2 separate regions of the Homo sapiens genome follow, and region 2 is linked to region 1. Evidence: promoter capture Hi-C in 16 types of primary human blood cells and fetal thymus (Javierre and others, 2016). All regions are on one chromosome and are shown on one strand. The core of a region is centred on a gene start or on the middle of the fragment in contact, and the rest is flanking DNA. Distances in the headings are between cores, read along the strand shown. Region 1 holds the start of FBXL19-AS1 (FBXL19 antisense RNA 1). Region 2 holds the start of INO80E (INO80 complex subunit E).

Region 1 (3,125 bases), core at 250-2,749:
CCAGATTCCCCCTTTCCGGGGACTTTCATACCCATCCATGGGGCTAAGGGGCCCTCCAGCGCTCCAGGGGAGGGGCCTGGAGGGCGGCGACTGCAGGCGGGGGTGGGGGCTTTCAAGGGGAAGCAGGGTCTAGGAAGGAGGGCCAGTTCCCCAGGGTGGAGAGGTCATAGGAAGGAGGGCTGGAGATGAGTTTGGAGTAGAGAGAGGGTGAGGCTGGGGGCGGGGAAGGTAGAGAGAGGCCGGGCTGAGGATGAATGGGAGTGGGCGCTGCCCAGGTCTGGGGGTGAGGAGGAGCCGCATGAACCCACCTCACACGTGTCCCGGGAGCCATCTCTCCCTTCTCGGCAGCTCCCGGCGGGTCGGCGGCCATCGGCGGCGGGGGGGCCGGGCGGCGCGGGGCGCGGAACGCTCAGAACGCCGGGGTCCACGGCCCCCCGAGGGCGCTCGGCCCCTCCCTCCGGCGGAGGCCGGGACGGCGGCGAGTGGAGATGGGGGGCGCCGGGGGCGAGGCCCTCCCACGGGCTGCGGCGCGGCCCTTCCAGGGGGAGGTCCTGCTCTGGGAGGCTCAGTCCCTCAGCCCCCCCAGGCCAACGGGGGCTCCTTGGGCGCAGGGTGCTCAGCTTCTGCCCGGGGCCCACTCAGTCCCGGGTCCGAGTCCCAGCTCCCCTCCCCCCACCCCGCCCCGCCTCTCCCCAGCGCCCCTGGCCCTTTAACTGGCCCCTTCCCGGACCCCACTGCCCAGGGGTCCAGTGCCAGGCCTGGGCCCCCCCCACCGTTTCCGGGGTTCAAGCCCGCCCACCGCCGGTTCCCGGGGAGGGGGGGGTCGCTGTAACCTGCCCCCCTCCCCTGGGCCCGCCCCTGGACTGCGACCCCCTGCCCTACGGCTGCGAGGCGAGCGGAGGGGGAGGTGAAGGAAGCTGCTCCGGCCCCGCCCCCCCCAGCCCGCGCGCACCCCCGACCTCTCCCCCTCCCCCAAGCGCGCGACCCTCGGGAGATAGGGATTTAAATAAAATTTGAATAAATCCCCCTCCTCAAGCGGGAGGGTGGAAGGAAAGGATAGAGGGGGAGAGGGAAAGGGGAAGGGGGCAGTTGGGGTGTCTCAGCCCCCCTGGTCCCCCAGCCCCGCGCTGCTACGGCCCGGGGCCCTGGCCGCCTCTCTCATCCCTCCTCAGCTCCTTCCTCCTTCCTCCTCTCTTCCCCCCTCCCCTCCCCTCCCTCCTCCTTCCCTCCTCCTCCTCCTCCTCCCCCTCTTTACTCCCTCCTTCTCCCAGAGGAACCCCGCCCCCTTCCCCCTCCTTCCTCCACCACCTCCACTTTCCAGGACGAACGCACGCAGGGCTCGACGGGAGTTGTAGTCCTGCGGCCACTGATGCTACGGGGGAACAATAGGACGCTGGGGACAGCGGGAACTACAAACAGGACGGCGGAGGGCGTGCCCAGCCGGGAGCCGAGGATGCCGGGAGTTAGAGTCCCGTTGCCCCGAGGCTCCCAGTTGCAGAACATCGAGAAGGAGAGGGAACGATGACTACAAACAAGATGGCCTTCTCCCCCGACCCGACCTCCTTCCCAGGCACTCACACGCCCTCCTGTCCACAACCCTCCGCGTGTGTGGTACCTGACGGGAGTCGCAGTCCATCTGCTGCCTTCCCGCTGCCATTTCTACTCGTCAGGAACAATGGAAAGGTGAAAAGGAAAGAGGACTACAAGCAAGATGGCGGAAGAGGGACATACACCTGACTAGTAGTCGATCTTACGAGGTGCGATGGGATTAGTAGTTTTATAGCCTTCCAGTGTTCCTTAAGAATGGCGGAACCAGGAGGACGAGGAGACTACCGTAAAGATGGCAGGCTACCTAGCCTCTCCCGGTCTCCGCTTTCCACCACCTTGGGCACCTCGCCCGCCTGTGGTCTCGAAATCCCCCCCACCAGTGGCGCACGGCCTGACGGGAGTTGCAGTCTCCCGGCTCCCGTCTATCATCTCAAGTCGAGACAATGGAAGGGGATGGGGCGGGGCCACCGGCAAAGATGGCGGCTGCAGGGCCGGGGCGACTGCGACATGGGATGTGTAGTCCAGGCGTCTGGCCTCTTCCCTGCGGAAATGAGGGAGAGGACTACGAAAAAGATGGCGACCTCGCCCCTCGACCTCTGCGCCGGTGCCTGCTGGGAAATGTAGTTCCTTGCCGAGTCCAACAGAGAAAGGACGTCGCTGTTGAAATGTGAATCCCGGCGGACACGCCAAATTGCGAGGCGACGGAAACGGAAAGACTCTTTTCTCCTCTCTCCGCCACCGGCTTCTGAACAGCCTGGCGGGAAATGTAGTCCCAAGCTTTCACTCGCGAGTGGAGGGGAAGGATTTATGTCACCAGTGGGGATCAGTGCGGGTGGGGGAGAAAAACGTCGGGCGATCCGGGAATAAAGAATGTCCGCCTCTCCATGGGGCGAGGACTTCGCGTTTCAGGGGAGGGCCCTTAAAGGAAGGCAGCAGGAATCAGTCTTGTCGAACAGGGGGGCGTGGTTCTCGTCGAGAGTGCATTCACACTCTTGTTCCCTAGAAAGCCTGGGCACCTCCCACTCGATTCCTGCTCCTCAGACCTCCGGGAATCAGTGTCTTACAAGACGTGCGGGCTCCGGGGAAAAGGACCTGGAGTCACAGCGAATCCCCGCCCCGCCCCGGGAAGCCACCAAACCTTGCTTTTTCTCATCTGCAAAATGGGGACAATGGGGATAATGATCCCCACCTCGAAGCACAGTTGTGAGTGTTAAACAAGCCAATGTTCTTGTCACCAAAGTGCCCAACTCTGGCACGGGGCACGCGGTGGTAGATCCCTTTCTAAGGTCCCTTCCAGCCCAGCCGTTCTGGGAGCCCAGGAATCCATGATGCCGGACAGAGTTCGCTCCTGTGAGAAGAAAACTGACCCGCAGGCTCCTCCCAGATTGAACCGACCCCCGCCCCTCCTCATCGGGGTCCTCCAGCGTCTGTTACCGAGCACTGCTCCCAGGGGGCGCTCAATCTCCATTCGACTGAGGTACTACAAACACGATTTCCGCAACCTGGAGTTGGAGGCATTGCAGGCTGTCCAGCCTCATCCCCTGCCTGATATCCAGTCAGCCTTGGAGGCCTCTGCC
Region 2 (3,152 bases), core at 55-2,554, 930 kb after region 1:
CCTGACCTGTTCTTACCTCAGGGTAGCTGCATTTATATTATTCTGCCGGGACAGCTCTAGCCCACTTCTTCACAAGATTGGTTTTTGTTTTTTTTTTTTTTTTGAGATGGAGTCTGGCTCTGTTGCCCAGGCTGGACTGCAGTAGTGCAATCTCAGCTCACTGCAAGCTCCACCTCCCAGGTTCACGCCATTCTTCTGCCTCAGCCTCCCGAGTAACTGGGACTACAGGTGCCCACCAACATCCCCGGCTAACTTTTTGTATTTTTAGTAGAGACAGGGTTTCACTGTGTTAGCCAGGATGGGGTTTCTTTCTTTTGAGACAGTCTTGCTCTGTCACCCAGGCTGGAGCACAGCGGTGCTATCATGGCTCACTGCAGCCTTGACCTTTCAGGCAAGGGATCCTCCTGGTTCTGCCTCCCAAGTAGCTGGGACCACATGTATACACCACTATACATGGCTAATTTTTTTTTAATTGAGATGGGGTCTCACTATGTTGCCCAGGATGGAAGGCTGGTTTCTTCTCTGGTCCCAACTCAAATGTCACTCTGTGAAAGGCCTTTCTTGAGTACTCCATTCAGAGGTTGCCTGCTGCCTGCTTGTGTGGTCTGCAAGCTAAGAAGGGCGTTTTTTTTTTTTTTTGAGACGGAGTCTCGCCCTGTCACCCAGGCTGGAATGCAGTGGCAGCGATCTCGGCTCACTGCAACCTCTGCCTCCAGGGTTCAAATGATTCTCCTGCCTCAGCCTCCCCAGTAGCTGGGATTACAGGTGCACGCCACCACACCCGACTAATTTTTGTATCTTTAGTAGAGACGAGGTTTCACCATGTTGGTCAGGCTGGTCTTGAACTCCCGACCTTGTGATCCGCCCACCTCGGCCTCCCAAAGTGTTGGGATTACAGGCGTGGGCCACTGCACCTGGCCAAGAATGGCTTTTAAGCTTTTAAACGGTTGGAAAAAAAAAAAACTAAAGAAAAATTTTTCATATGGAAAAATATGAAATTCAAATTTCAGTGCCTATAAAGTTTTATAGAAACATAGCCATACTCATGTATTTGCCTATGGGGTACGGCTGCTACTACAATGGCAGAGTTCAGTAGGTGCTTCAAAGATTGTATGTTGCAAAAAGCTTACTTACCATCTGGCCCTTTGCAGAAACAATTCATCAACCCCTGTTCTACTATAATCATTACCGCATAACTGTTTTCATTACCTTCAAGTCCTTCCTATGACCTAAAATTCTAGTCTATTGTCTTCATTTACTTATTCTTCCCAACTAGAATATAAATTACAAGAGGCCAAGGGCTTTGCCTATCTCTGCCTCTGCTGTATCCCCTGTGCCAAGCACAGTGCCTGAAACACAATAGGTGCTCAGTAAGTGCCTGAATGAAAGAACGGTGGAGGTGGAAGGCAAGCAACTAGGCTTAAGGACCACTGGGGGCTGCATCAGCCACCACTGCCTAAAAGGCGGGGGCCCAGGAAGCTTGCTAAGTACCAGGAACCATGCTCTCCACCAATTTTTGAAGACCTTGCTCACCCGAAGAGTCTTCATCCACGTTCTCGTACTGCAGAAGTCGGTCTAGGAGGAAACTGAGGGGAGGGAAGGAGACACGGACAGTGATTTTCCAGCGCAGCAATGTCCTCCTGGGTACCTGTCCCTCCCAGCTGGCCCATCGGATACTTGAAAGAGCCCATGCACTTGTGGCCCTACTCGGGGATGGGGTCCGAATGTAGATTTCCTAGGAAGCACATCGCCCTCCGCCCCTGCAACGTGCCTCACCTCTTGTCCCGGGACACCTTCAGTAATTTCCTTTGCGCTTTCCTCAGCTCCTCCTGGAAGCACTCGTGCTCCTGTATCACGGGCAAGGGGTGCGCTGGGCCAACGGTCCTCCGTGAAGGGCCCCGGAACCAGCGGCCGCTCGCCCCACCCACTTTACACCTGGGTAAACTGAGATCTTGTCCGCGCCAGGCCTCATCCCCCACAGCCTTCCCGCGGCAGCACTCACGTAGATGAGGAACTTGAGCTTCCGCTTCAGATTCCGGTATTTTTTTTTGTAGTCCACTTCGCCGTCCGCCGGCCCGTTCATGACCGGCCCGGGAGTGGCGCCCAGAGTCTGCCCTCCCGCTACCCCAAGCAGTGGCTGCCGTGCCGCTCCCGCCTCCACTTCCGGAGACGCTGCAAGGCTGTGCCGTCAGGACTACAACTCCCGGCGTACCCCGCGCTCAGGGGCGTCACCGCACGGGCCGACCTCCCGGGGGACACTGGGACAGGAGCGCGGCAGCCACTGCGCTGGGGATGGCGTAGCAGCGACGCGGTGACGCCACAAAAATGGCGGACGCTGGAAAGCGCCGTTCCTGACTCTAATGTACTTAGACACTTGAAGCCACAAAAGGATTTATCCCCGAGGTTCCTCATCTGCTCGCGAGGATGCCTTTTCTCTTCTGCCTTGCGAAATAACAGCAGCCTAGCTGTTGCCCGTGACCAGTGAGAAAGGCAGCGTCGCGGGCTGATTAGGTTTCACCCAAAGGGTGCCGGCGCCGAATTGGTTTCTAACGAGAACTTTTAAAATGATCCGTTCCAAAAAAGGGTAGGAGCCGCGAGACCCTCCAACTGCCCAGAGAAAACAAGTCTCGTCTGGCAAAGTTCTCGGCCCACGCGGTCCGCGGCCAAGGGCCAACGGTCCCTCGCCCCACGTTGCCGCAGCACTGCGCGTGCGCGAGCCGCTGTCAAACGCGCTGACGGAGGCCGAGAAGAAAAAAAGGCGGGAGCCGTCAATCCCGGGTTGAGCAAAATGGCGCGGGAGAAGGAGATGCAGGAGTTCACCCGTAGCTTCTTCCGAGGCCGCCCGGACCTCAGGTGCCCAGGGGGTTGGAGATGGGGTTGGAAAGGGCGCGGGTGGGTCGGGACTCCGTCCTGACACCATGTCCCTGCAGCACGCTTACGCATTCCATCGTGCGGCGGAGGTACTTAGCTCACTCGGGCCGCAGCCACCTGGAGCCCGAGGAGAAGCAGGCACTGAAGCGGCTGGTGGAGGAGGAGCTGCTGAAGATGCAGGTGTGCCGGGCCGGAGCCTGGGCCGCGGGAGGCGGAGGCGGGGCTTGCTGCTGAGGAGGAGGGGCCTGACGGGGCGCGGTGAGCGCAGCCTTGGTGCATAG

The links. Contacts are between HindIII fragments. The CHiCAGO score rates a contact against its expected background, and 5 or more counts as called.
Region 2: a contact is called between a fragment that was not itself captured here and the fragment with the promoter of FBXL19-AS1 in region 1, in 2 of 17 cell types (non-activated CD4 T cells and fetal thymus). The highest score is 8.9, in non-activated CD4 T cells.

Annotation. Positions count from the first base shown.
Region 1 is chr16:30,921,643-30,924,767 of GRCh38, reverse strand. FBXL19-AS1 (FBXL19 antisense RNA 1) reads left to right here and starts at 1,499. Exons shown (of 1, transcript NR_024348.1): 1 at 1,499-3,125. It overlaps FBXL19 (F-box and leucine rich repeat protein 19), which reads right to left and starts at 1,196. Exons shown (of 11, transcript NM_001382779.1): 1 at 309-1,196. RefSeq lists enhancers at 1,278-1,437, 1,478-1,567, 1,190-2,157, 1,598-2,417, 2,158-3,125. The HindIII fragment of the contact is 5,738 bases long and covers 1-2,327 here.
Region 2 is chr16:29,995,242-29,998,393 of GRCh38, reverse strand. It overlaps INO80E (INO80 complex subunit E), which reads right to left and starts at 2,153. Exons shown (of 7, transcript NM_173618.3): 1 at 2,003-2,153; 2 at 1,777-1,847; 3 at 1,534-1,586. The coding sequence starts at 2,083. HIRIP3 (HIRA interacting protein 3) reads left to right here and starts at 2,777. Exons shown (of 7, transcript NM_003609.5): 1 at 2,777-2,853; 2 at 2,931-3,051. The coding sequence starts at 2,789. RefSeq lists enhancers at 2,070-2,199, 2,260-2,429. The HindIII fragment of the contact is 354 bases long and covers 1,128-1,481 here.